2 separate regions of the Homo sapiens genome follow, and region 1 is linked to region 2. Evidence: promoter capture Hi-C in 16 types of primary human blood cells and fetal thymus (Javierre and others, 2016). All regions are on one chromosome and are shown on one strand. Each heading gives the region's core, a stretch centred on a gene start or on the middle of the fragment in contact. The rest is flanking DNA. Distances are from core to core; before and after follow the strand shown.

Region 1 (5,927 bases), core at 2,791-5,290, 42 kb after region 2:
TGGGTATGGTGACTGTCCCCGCAGGTCATCTCCATCCCCAGTGCCAACCCCTACAAAACAAACCTCTGGGGCTTTCTACTGTGGGACACCCAATGTATAAACATCAGGGTGGCCCCAGTATAGGCGTCTTGTTGTGTCTGGAAGAGCCTGGCCATTTGTGCCAGAGGGAAAGCAGCCAGGCCCCACCTTCCCACCCCCAGGAGCTGTGGAGAGGAGAGGGAGGGGGCTGGTTTCTCCTTCTGTCCCCTCCTTCCTTAAAAACAGTGTATAAAAATTCCAATACAGATTTCTCCTAGAGAAAAAAAAAAAAAAGCCCTAACCTCCACACTACACATTTAACTGCGACAGACGGAGACATCTGGCAGAAGGGCGGTGGAGCCAAAAAAATTCCTATAAATTTAAATTCGATGATGGTTACAATTAACTCCACAACAAACGTGTACTTAAACAGAAAGCCGTTGCTGGGCGTTTGGACACAGCTCGAGCTGCACGTGAGAAAGGAGAGCTTCAGAGTAGCTATGGAATGTCCTCAGCTTGAGAATGTGAGGAGACTACGGCCATACTCTTGGCCCTGCCAGCGGAGAGGAGCTCCAGGCCGGCTAGCACCGGCCTATCTCACCTCTGCCTGCCTGTCCTCACCCGCTGGGCTCTGCCTGCCTGCCTCCTCCTCCTCCGCCGCTGCCATGGGAGCATGGAGGATTTTAAGAGGAGAGGGGTTAATAAAAGGGTCAAATAAAATCATAATATTGAACAGAATGAAATTTATCTTTATTTGCCACCAAAAAAATTTCACAGCAATCCCTCTGGGAAGGGAGCAGGGTGGGGAGTGCACATGTACACACGCACTCACGCAGAGGAGTAGAGATGCGTGATTTGAATCTCACTGGGGGCGTCCCCCCCTTTCCCTCCAGGTGGAAAGAAACGCTTGGGAAATTTATTTACAAAAATCCAGGCCCCAGCACGGGGGAGGTGCCCAATCCCATCTCCCTACTGCCTCCACCACCCCAATCTTCAATTTTCTTAAAAAAAAAAAAAAAAGAGGTAACGACTGCATAGACTATAGCTATAAATCCATGAAGTGGGGCACTGCTTGGAAAAAGATGTGGAAACCTCAATGCACCGATTAAGAAATTTCAAAGGAAGGTTCTACACATTCAGGGGGAGAACAACTAGGCTCGGGCGGGGCCTTGGCGAAGACGGAGGTAGGACACGGACTTTGCACACCTAACACCAGGTTGAAGGTACAGAAATTTCACAGCAAGGCAGGATCACATTTAGCTGCAAGGTGGGGCGGGGTAGAGGGGGGAGCTCGAGAAGTTTCCGCTGGCAGACATGCTGTCTTAGCGGATCTTTTCACATGGGCAAGGGAAGGCTTTTAGTTCGAGGATTGTTCGGCTCAGGCGCTCACTACTGTCGCCCCTCCCCCACCTAATCCGAGCAGCAAGACATTGTCGCCGAGGTGTGTTTTCTTTTAAATCAAAGTCTTGGCCTCGGCGCCAACGGTGTTCACTCGCCGTGCATCAGACACTTCCCTTCACCCCCTTTCCAGGCCCGGTCCCTGTCCCACAGCGAGAGTCAGATAGAGGGTCCAGGAGGTTCCGGAATGGAGTGCCGGCCACAGCGGTGGGGGCCAGCCCTGGCCACAGTCCAGTTTTCCACCGGCGGAAAGAAGACGAGTTAGAAAATAAAAAATAAAAATAAAATAAAATAATTTTCCCCTCCCCCCGCCCCCAAAAGGGCCCGGTCTGCAGGTTACAGCAGAGGATTTCCCGAGAAATACTGCAGCCGGTCTCTGCTCAGTTTCTTTTCTTTCATCCTTCTGTTCTGAAACCAAATTTTCACTTGTCGGTCCGTCAGGTTCAGCATCCGGGACAGCTGCAGCCGCTTCTCTTTGTTGATATACACGTTGAAGAAAAACTCTCGCTCCAGTTCCCGGATCTGGAATTTCGAATAAGGGCAGCGCTTCTTGCGGGTGCGGGGGGCGTCTGGAGGGAGGGGAGGGGGCAAGTGCGAGGAGAGGGGGGAGAGAGACACGTGAGACCCGGGCGACCCCAGCCCGCTGAGCGCTCAGCGGCCCTTCTCCTAGCCCACCGCGGGCAGCCCTCCCGCCAGGCGGCTGGCTCTCCTGCAGCCGCAGCACCCGGGCAAGCCTCGACCCCCTGCCAGGTCTAGCGGGTCCCCACCCCCCCGCCACTGCGCCACCCCGTCCCCAGTTCTCAGGCGAGAGCCGCGGCTGACAGGGTCTGGGACAGAAGGAAAGCCCTCCAGGTACACGTGCGTCCCCTCGGGCCCCCTGTCTGCTCCCCCTCCGCCCTCGGGCCCTTCCTGGGCCGCCCTCCTAGTGGTTCGGAAAGCCCAACCCCTCCCCCAGAAATCTGGGGGGAAAGCTGAGAACAGGCGCGAAGCAGTGAAATCTGGCGAGAGCAGTCGGGAGGCGGGGAGGAAGCCGGCCAGCAGGCACCGAGACACCAGAGAGCCGCTTCCGGGGCCCTGGCGCCCCGGGAAGCCCGCGGGGCAGCGCCTTCCACACCGCAGTTCTAGGCAAGCACTAAGGCCGCGGACCCGGGAGAAACGCCCAGACCCCCGCCTGGAACGCAGTGGAGTCCTGCGCCGCCTCGCCCCATTCCCCTGTCGCCGCTGACCCCAGAGTTGCTTGGGTTTCTGCTCGAGGACCCGCGAACACATAGTTTGAACATTTTCAAAACTAGTTTTAAGAAGGATCATAGCGGTCCTGGCTTGCCTCTCCGGTCTCAGGTTCTGCTCCATTGCTCCTCTCCCCCACCTCTCCCCCTCTCTGGATCTCTCCCTGTCTTTCCCTCGCCCTCCCCTTTCTCCCCCTCCACCCCTCCCCTCCTCCCCACTCCTCGGCAGCCCGGCTCCCCATACTTCCTTAAATGCTCCTCTAAGTTCACGATCAAAGTTAATATCGCCCGCAATGGTTGCGCTTTTAAAAATTTCACAGACCGAGGGAGATAACGGGGGAGGGGGGTTCACCCGGCTTTTCCAAAGAGCCCTTTTCCCTCCCTCCCCACCCCTTCTCCATCGTAAAAAGTCGAGTCGTTGGGAGAGAGGGCTTTGTAGGTTATAATAAAATCCTTTGAATGCTTATAAAACTCCACATAAAATCGGACTGACCCAAAACACGAGGCCGTCCCCGCTCCCCTTGCCTCCCCCCTTCTCTCGCCCTCCCTCTCTCGCTCCCTCCCTCGCTGCCCGCCCGTTCCCCGGCCGCTGCTACCTACTGGGGGCGGCTCCTTTGGCCGGCTCCTTGGCCACGGAGTGGGCTGAACCGGACGAGCTGGGATTTGTGTTCTCCTCCTCAGCCTCCGCCTCGGCACCCGCCTCAGCCCGGGACGCCAGTCCCGAGGCCGGGGGTGCCTCGGGCTCCCCCTTGGCCTCGCCCTTGCCGGAGCAGGGGGGCTCGGCGGGCGGGTCGCCGCCACCGCAGTAGGCGTTGTCGAAGAAACGGTCGAAGGCTTGAGGCAGGACGCTGTTCTTGTTGACTGAGGAGTAGAAGCCGGCGGGGGTTGCGTGCGGGGCGCTGGGGTGGTGGTGGCCGCCGTAGGAGCCTTCGTTTTTCATGAGGATCTCGGTGACGGTGGAAGGAGGCAGGCACTCCCGGTGCATAAGCTCGTCGGCCGCCGCATAGCAGGAGGAGTAGCTGTTCCGATGGTGCCACTTGCCGGATGGCTCCAGGCCGTAGGAGACCTCCCGGACCGGGGGCACTTGGGCCGAGTAGGGATAGGAGATCTGACGAGAGGGGGCCTGGGGCAGGAAGGAGGAGACCGTGGAGAACTCGGGCATGTAGTAAGTGCAACTGGGCAGATAGAGGTTGGAGGCGCAGCTCCCTCGCTCGCCGAAATCTGCGCCCCTCTCCTTGCGCGACGGAGAGCAGAAGTTGCCCAGGTTGACCGAGTTAAACATCGTTCTCCTCTCCTGCCGGCTCCGGATGGAGGTTTTGGACCCGGTCTAGCGAGGGGGGAAAATTTGGGAAGGCGAGATGACGCGTTATCCGTCTTAGTCTCTCTCTCTCTGAGCACGTGATCCAAAGTAGATATTGTCATATATCAGTTCGGAGCACTTCGCAGACGTAGGAGGGGTTCTCTCTTAGGTAAGATCGGGGACGTTCAGGCGATTGGTTTGCAAACACCGCAGAAACATTATGAAAATCAATTGCAGATTTGTATTCGTTTTTCTCTCGTCACTCCCCTTCTCTCCATACCACAGCACGAGCAAAGGAGGAGAGAGAGGGTTGGGGTGGGGTGGGCGGTGGGATGGGCGAGGGTGGTGGCTGGGAAGGGGTAATTGTATTTTTTTCTAGCTGCTGCTCTTTTTTCCCCCAGGATTGGGGGAAGGAGGAGGGCTCTCATGTATGGGGGTCTTGCCTCCTCTCTGTGAGCAGCACCAGGAGGGTGGGAGTGAGGACTTCTTTCCCCACTGCCTGATTTCCCCAGAGAAGTGAATCCTTTCCCTTAAATCTCAGGGACTCTTACCCTTCCAACCCGCAGAGACACCGCCTGTTCACAAGAGTTTGAAGAAGTCCACTCTTTTCCTGGCCAGAGCTGGGTGTCAAGACTACCTTTCTGGAGTCCTTAGAGAGACTCCCGGAAGAGTATCTGAAGTTTCCCAAAGGTGAGGCAGCCCAGCTGCAAGCCAGTGTCCCAACTTTGTCTGGCTTGCTGTGCTGCCCCTGGCTAGGGAGTCAGATTAGTCATAAACGAGTGGTGAGCAGTGCGCCAGCCGCCCAGCCGGTGCCTGGCGAAGTCTGGGAAAAACCTTCTCTAATGTTGTGTTAAATATTTAGTATGAGAGAGTGGCCCTGGGTGAATATTTCATGCCTGCCTTTATTGTCAATCAATGTGAAGAAAGCTACATCCACTGTGGATTTTCAAATCCCAAACCCCAAAGAAAAGGATTGGAATGAGAGCCATGTATCTTCTATGTCAGGGCCCTTTGGCTTAGTGGCTCAGCCTCAGCTAGTGCGCTGAAAAGAAGCCTAGTGTAGGGGTCCAGGAAGAATATGGTGGGGGGGACTAGGTTTGGGGTTCTTATCCTTGGATGATTTTGAGGACTGTAAGGTGGGTGGTGGGGCCAGGTATGGGTCTCCAGAAGAGACTAACCAGACAGTGGAAAGGAGCGGTGGATGCTGTGGCATCAGGGGAGGCCCAGCGGCCACTCCCTAGTCAAAGCCCCCAGCCTCTGTCCCTGGGGCTGTGACCAGATCTTAGTGCCTCCTTCCTATTTCTCAGCCCTGTCCTGCCCTCCTACAAGTCTGTCAGCCTCCTGGATAGCTGTAGCCCAAGAAGTAGGCTCAGTCATTCTGCATCCCCAACCCCTTGCCTTCCATCCCTCTGAGCACCACAGGACACATGTGGGCATCTGAAAATCACTTTATTGAAAGGTTCTGGACTGGGTCCAAGGGGCCAAAAGCAACCAGCATGAGCTGAAAGCAACCTTGGATCCAAAGAGGAGCTGCCAGGGCACAATTTGTTTGGGAAGGAGGGGAAGAACCGAAGCCCCCAAGGGCTCAGCCCAATGCACACTCAGGGGAAAACAAAAAATAGCCCGAACTCTCTTTACATCCATAACCCTCAGTTAAAATTAGTTTCCACTTAAAGAAATTAGAATGGATTTGTCTTGATGAAACATGATAAGGTGCTGCGGCTCCCAAACCAGATAAGGAGGACACAAAAAATTGTAGCTTGTCTCCATATGTAACCCCTAAAATCCATTCCTCCTCAATGCTCCTGCCTCCTCAAACTTGCTCAGCATTTAAGTGACACCTGAGTGGAGTCTGCCTCCACCATGGGTCCCATTCTCAGGGTGGTTCTGGAATACTCAGGGATAGGTCTCAGGTGCCCCTCTACGCACTCAATGCTGGGCGCTACTCCTTTAGTTCTGGTCAGATCTTAAACTGAAGCAAAGAA
Region 2 (6,450 bases), core at 3,854-6,353:
GTTGGTGTTGGAGTCCACTGGGGTCCAGTTTATCCCCTGGCCAGAGTGGAAAATGAAAACAGAGCGCCGGTCGCTGCTGCTATGCCTTCTCTGCTTGCCTCTGTCTTGTAAGGATGGGTCTAGGGGTGAAGGGCATAGGATGGGGGTGGGGGAGCTGCAGGGCTGTAGCCAGGAAGGGACAGAAAATCAATTAAAATATTATATAAAGACACCTCAGGATGGTGCTGTTAAGCGGCCAACCTCGAACTCTAGCACCTCCAAATCTCGCTGTGGGTACACTCAGTGAGGTCGTTCTAGGATTAAGAGAAATACCTCAGCCTCGCCCAGGCCCGCCCCTCGGGTGGGAGGGGGCCCTTCTAATATTCTAGGTGAATCTCCACTGGCCTGAATGGCCTTCTCTGGAAAAGGTTTTCTTTCGGGGACGGACAAAGGACACTTGTGTTCCCCCCCATCAGCGGCCATCCACAGGGGCGGGGGCGGACAAAATGCAGGCGAAAGAGAGAAATAGAGGCCTCACCGGTCGGCGATTCCCACATTACTCCAGGAGAAAGGCTCCCTTTTTCGGGCCTCTCGGGCCCCTCTTGTGTCCCACCGCACTCCCTTTGCCCTTTTCAGGTCCCACAGACTCCGGGTTCCGGCCTGCCGCAGGCTGGATCCGCGGGGCATCAGCCACTGGGCCGTGCCTGAGCGGCGGGAGAGCGCGCGGCAGCCTGAGCAGGCGGCGGGCTGGGCCCATTTGGGGAGAGCCAAGCGCTTTTCTCGATCGTAAACAAGGAAAGCGAAATTAGCCCCTCGTCAGACGCCTCTGCCGACACACAAGTCCTACTGGGGGTGGGGGGGTGGGGGAGGGGGAGAGAAAATGCCATTTCTTCCCGCGGGAGAATACCTCAGAGGCCTTTATGATGGCTGCGAAAGGGGAATTTAGCGGGGGCAGAAAAGGAAGGGAAGGGGGTTGTGGGGGGAGGGGAGATAAAATTCACCGTCAGCTCTGGCCCAAACGGTTTGATCTGAATGCAAACTGTATTTTTAAAAATTTGATAAAAACAGGTTTCTTCCCCCATCCCCGCCCCCCCACAGGCGACGGGTCAGGGTTTAAACAGGAAATCGTGGAGCGATCCCCTCCCCCACTGGGACTTGGCGCAGAATCCCAGTCGCGCCTCTGGGAGAGGGTGGGGGTAGAGGGGGTGTCTTGGCTTAGATTAAGGTAAGTCTGGCCCCCAGGTTCTCTCGGACCTCGTCTGGAATATGTTCCCCCACGCCTCCGGGTGTGTCTGCCTGGGTGTGTAGGCGTTTGCGTGTGCGTCGCCGTTTATAAACAGAAATTCACACTTATGGGGCCGCCTCGGAGCCTCGGACCCAGGCCGGGGAGCAGGGCGGGGTCATATATCAAACTGCAACACATTCAGGGCCACGTACATTTGGAAGAAATTAAGCCACTGTGTTATGAAACCATATGCGTCGGGTTAAGACTATACAACAGGCCATTAGCACCAATTATTAGAGAGATCCCGAGTGCCCAGGACCCTCCCGCCGCCCCAGGCTGACGCCTCTACCCCATAAGCCAGCAGCCCCCGGAATCCTCACTGCCTCCACAGCACCTAGGAGACTCTACCAGGAGGACTGGGCCTGTCCCCGCCCAGCCTAGGGCCTTCCCCATTTCCACCTCCCCCCGAGGCGAGGCAGGTCCTAGCCCAGAGCAGCCATGCGTGGCGAGCGGGCATCCCGGTCCAGTGGGCATCCCGGCTGGGATGGCCGCGGCTGGGGGTGAGGGGCGCCGGACCCCGGAAGGGAAAGCCGGTAGGCCTCTTTTCTCTGAGCACAAGATGGCTTTTGAGTACAGCATCCCCCACCCCCACCCTACAACCTCCACCCTCCACCCAACGCAGGGCACCTCCCACCCTTCCATCCGCCCGAGTGGGGGCGGGAGCAGGGGGTGGGCAGACGCTCTCCTCTCGGCTGACGCGCACCAGCCACCAGCCTCCCCCCTAATTGCCAATTAACAGGCCCCGCCGGCCGCCTAGCTGCGCCGGCTTCCTGCTCGGCGGCCCGGCCCTGGGCCCACACTGCGCATGTGTGAGCTCTAGCAGTCGCGCTCTCTGGGAGGGAGGGGGCTGCCAGACAGGGAGGGGAAGCTGGAAAGTTTGTTTGGGGGTTGGGGGGCTAACTTTGCTTAGGGGGCAATGGGCACAGCCTCTAAGTTCTCTCTCCTGCCTGGAGCTTGAGCTTCCAGTTCCGCTCCGACCCAGTTCCATTAGCCAAGAGACCGAAGATCTATAATAAGCAGGTACTGACACAGTGGGCAGCAGAGAGCTGGCGCCCTAGACCGCCGGCTTGAGCCCCACAGGTGCTGTTCCCTTGCCTCCCCACCCCCAACTTGGCACACAGTGACATCAGGACAACACAATCGCCCCACTACCAGTTACCGGTATTCCAGTTTAACCCCGTTTCTCTCCCCCCGCCAATTTTCCTCCCCATAATTAACTACGCGCCCACCCTCTCGCCAGCCCCCTCTTCTCCCTAACCAAGAGAAGCCGCTGCTGTCCTATTCTTGAAACCGCCACGGACCATTAGTTACATATTTGAACCAATAAGGAAACACTTACCGAGCGCTGCTGTCACTCTCCCTCTCTCCCTCTCTGCCTCTCTCTCTCCCACTCTCTTTCTCGTCTTCCCTCATTCTGTGCCGCTGCCGAGCCTGTCTCAGCTCCACACACACACACATATACTTTATATAAATTCAAAAATAAAAATAATTATAATCATCCAAAAGCCAAACAAAATTAAGGAGAGTTGCAAGAAGGGGGCAGGAGGAAGAGCCTGGGAGAGAGGAGGGGCGGAGGCATCTGCAGCTCCCAAGCTCAACTCCTGCTCCTGCATTCCTCCTGCCCCTTGGGGGCCAGAGGGTCGGGAAGGAAGAGAGAGATGCCCTCAACTTCTGTCTCTCCCCTCCCATCCCCACCCTCCCCAGCTGCCCCCAGCTTCGGCAACTCCACCTGGGAGGAAAAAAAATTAAATGGGGGAAAAATAATTATTAATCAGATTAATTTAAAAAAAATACTGCTAATGAAGGGAGCGCCCAGGGCAGGTTTCCCTGGCAATGGTTAGGCTCTTACAGGGAGGACTGTTCTGCGGAGCGCTCGGAACGGACAAACCACAATAAAAAGTTCACGTTCATGGATGGAATCCACATGACTTCTTGTGGCCAATCCAACTTGTGAGTCGATCGTAAACTTTTATTACTCAGCTGTAAATTTTCTGCAAACAACCGGGAATGCGATGCATTTGTGTAGCGTGTGCAAATGGGCGCCGCGGTCGCCATGTTTACCCAATTCTCTCATAGAGGGAGCATCCCCGGACCCCCACCCCACCCCTACCCCCACCCACCGCCCACTCCCCACGGGCCAGGCTGCTGCAGGCGAGCGCAGAAAGAGCTGAGGGCGGACGCCCAGGCGAAAGAAAGCTTCAAGCACTGAGGGTCGGTTGCCTCTCCTGGCTTGCCGAGTTTTAAATATTGTCCTTAATAAATGGGGGCATTAAGGTTGGATCAGGCGGAATTCAAAGCTTTGCAAAGATTTGTGGCCTTGAGGCAGTGATGGCTGGTGAATTGCAGGGATTGAAAGGGTGCCTCCCTACCCCTACCTTTTTTTTTTTTTTTTTTTTTTAGTAAGAGAACAACATCCCCTCTATGCCGTACCCCTGAAAGCTCCTACTCCACCCTAGACAGGAACAGTAGTGGAAGACCACTGGCAGCCACCCAACCAAACCTGACCTGGAGTGGTCTGAAGAACCTAGGGGACTAGACCTACCCTGGGCAATCCTGCAGTGCAGCAGGAGAGGTGAGAATTGGGGTCAACTTCTAGGACCCTCAAAACGACCCACATCCCCGGGGTCCCTTTCTTAGAGAGAATGACATTTTCCCCCAAGACCATCCCTAGTTTCCCTTCCCAGTTCAAATGGTGGCTTATTTGAAATCTTTTTACAATTAAAAATAAAATTAAAGCCCAAGATCTTGGTCTCTACTTCCTTTTTGCGGGGAGGGGTGCAAGGCAGTAAGCCTTTTGGATCGTGTCAGATTGCCCATACCCACCTGCCTTTCTCAGAAAAATTTCCTGATTCAATGTCTGGGCAGCTGGGATGTACTACCGAGGCCTGAAAAAATAACCTTTTACTGCCCTGAATTCCACCTTCTGTGCTAAAATTTCGAGCAGCCTGTTTTTCCAGACCCCTAATTTTGAAGGTGAGTCCAGAATAAATTCCCCCATAGAGACTATTTGCCGGGGGAGGGGTTGCAGGCAGGTCACTCTCCCCACGGGCTCGAGATTTGAAGGCCGGCATCTCTCCACTTGGTCCCGCATCAAGCTGGCATGGGAATCTCAATGGTTGGGTGCCTCAACCCTGACCAAGAGGGGATACCTCATGCCTTCCCCAGACTTCCTCCATAGTAAGAAAAGCAGTTCCCTAGGCCGGATGCAGGGACCTCGTTTCTTTTCACAAACCCACCCATAAATTTTATAACAGGTAGTTAAAAATTACGACAAGGAAGCGCTGGCCCAGCTTTTCACAATGGGCAGCGGGGAGAATGGGACGGCGCTGCGGGCAGCTCACCGGAAATTTTACTTCTAGACTGTGGCACAACCTGTCCTGAATTCTCCCTAATTGGGCGGGGTAACTTTCCCAGCCAGCAGGCAGTCATTAGGGCATCTTATCTGGGGAAGATAAGACTGGGGAGACCAAACCACTCGCCTATCCAAGGGTCCCTCAAGGAGCCCTTCAGGACGCTCACTACCTCTCTCACCCACCCCCAGATCTCTTGCAGGTCCGCACCTTCCTTGGCTGATGCAATGAGGGAGTGGGGAGGAAAAAAAATTTAATCCAGAGAAACGAATTTGCCCCCCAACTTAATAGCTGCATTATTCCAGCTCTACGGTTGAGATTAGAATAATAAATTCAAGGAGCAATGAGCGAGATGCTTCAACTCAGCATTTTGAAAGATACTATTTTTCACAAATCACAAATGGCTTTCGGAAGCCACTTTGATTGGCTAATAAAAAAGTAAAGAATGGGAGAGAAAGTCCTATCTGCAGCAGCCGAATGGTCCCCATTCCGGTAATGGGACGGCGGGAGCATTTGGGAGGACGCGATTCTAAAGAGAGCGCATCCCGCTCACAATTACGTTCCCCCATAAAACGGGTTTTTACCTCCATTTCTTTCCAAACGAGAAAACAGAGGCGGTGGGCAGGAGGGGTGGGGGAGCGGGTACTGCATGAGGGGGTGGCTGGGGCTCCCTCGGCTTAGCCCTCTCCATGCCTGGCATCTCGAGTAAAGCCGGGCGCCAGACGCACCCCGCCCTCCGACGCGCCGGGCTTGGGGCCACGGACATTGCTGAACAGGACAAGGGATAAATGGCACATTTGGTGTGGGGAAAAGGCGGCGAGGCCCTTCGGAGCCATTTAATGCTGGGTTCATTCCGCTAGGCTACTGGGCCAGATATTTTTATTAATAGCAATCATAATTCCACGTTTAAAAACGAAACGGGACCTCAGCCATCCCTCGGAGTATGGAGGACACGCCTGTGGGAAGGCCTGAGGTCTGAGCGAAATGGCCTCTTTTCTGGCTTCCCTGGTGGGTAGCCGGTGTCTCCCACTGAGAACAGGTTACCTGGCTGGTGCCGCTGCTCACAGCAGGGACCCCAGGTTAGAGAAGATTTCCCGGAGCTCCTGCTCAAAGCTGCCCCAGCTGCCTGCAGCCTGTGCTTCCAATTCACAGCCTTTCTCGGACTGCAGGAGTCCCCCTGTGAAGGAAGCCCGACTCAATTCTCTACTCAGGCCCGATTTTCAGGCCCGGTTTGCGTGGGGACCAGTGACTGGGACCTGGGTGAAATTCCACAAAACAAGAGTTGGCCTGGGCCTAGGTCTGGGAAAATCATTGACCAGGAGCTAGACAGATGAGGGGTGGGGAGGACAGAGAGAGAGAGAGAGAGAGAGAGAGAGAGAGAGAGAGAGAGAGAGAGAGAAAGAAGAGAAGAGAAGAGAAGAGAAGAGAAGAGAAGAGAAGAGAAGAGAAGAGAAGAGAAAAAGAAAGAAAGAAAATCTGGCCTCAAAAATATTTCAGCCTTCGGGGGTCTGGTTTTTAAGACCAGAAGATCCCTCCCCTCCCTTTTCCCCTCTCCTGACTGAGTCAGAAGACTTGTATCTCTGGAATTTGGGATTATTTGACCAGAATCTTATTGGCATAAACAGAATTTTTAAGTCCAGGACTCTCCAGAGAGAAGTGAGAGACCCTTCTACCCCCTGGGTCCCTGAGCCTTCAATTCTTCATTTTGGGGAATGAAGATACCAATAAAGACGCCCTCTTACCCCGCTGTGACTGGGGTGGCAGGATGTCCACTCAGCAGGCCCATCCTCCAGGCCAATGGCCCACACTATGGGGGCTGGGTAAGCTGACCAATTG

What was found. Contacts are between HindIII fragments. The CHiCAGO score rates a contact against its expected background, and 5 or more counts as called.
Region 1: a contact is called between the fragment with the promoter of HOXC11 here and a fragment that was not itself captured in region 2, in 1 of 17 cell types (total B cells). The highest score is 5.9, in total B cells.

The regions. Positions count from the first base shown.
Region 1 is chr12:53,971,239-53,977,165 of GRCh38, reverse strand. HOXC11 (homeobox C11) reads right to left here and starts at 4,040. Exons shown (of 2, transcript NM_014212.4): 1 at 3,243-4,040; 2 at 1-1,985. The coding sequence starts at 3,924. The coding sequence ends at 1,753. HOTAIR (HOX transcript antisense RNA) reads left to right here and starts at 2,212. Exons shown (of 7, transcript NR_186241.1): 1 at 2,212-2,268. RefSeq lists enhancers at 1,740-1,889, 2,220-2,814. The HindIII fragment of the contact is 12,279 bases long and covers 1-5,927 here.
Region 2 is chr12:54,013,568-54,020,017 of GRCh38, reverse strand. LOC124902939 (a long non-coding RNA gene) reads left to right here and starts at 2,271. Exons shown (of 2, transcript XR_007063323.1): 1 at 2,271-3,214; 2 at 3,665-4,005. It also overlaps a transcript of HOXC4 not described here, a transcript of HOXC5 not described here and a transcript of HOXC6 not described here. RefSeq lists enhancers at 1-1,564, 1,496-1,565 and silencers at 1,606-1,875, 1,946-2,115. The HindIII fragment of the contact is 3,080 bases long and covers 3,564-6,450 here.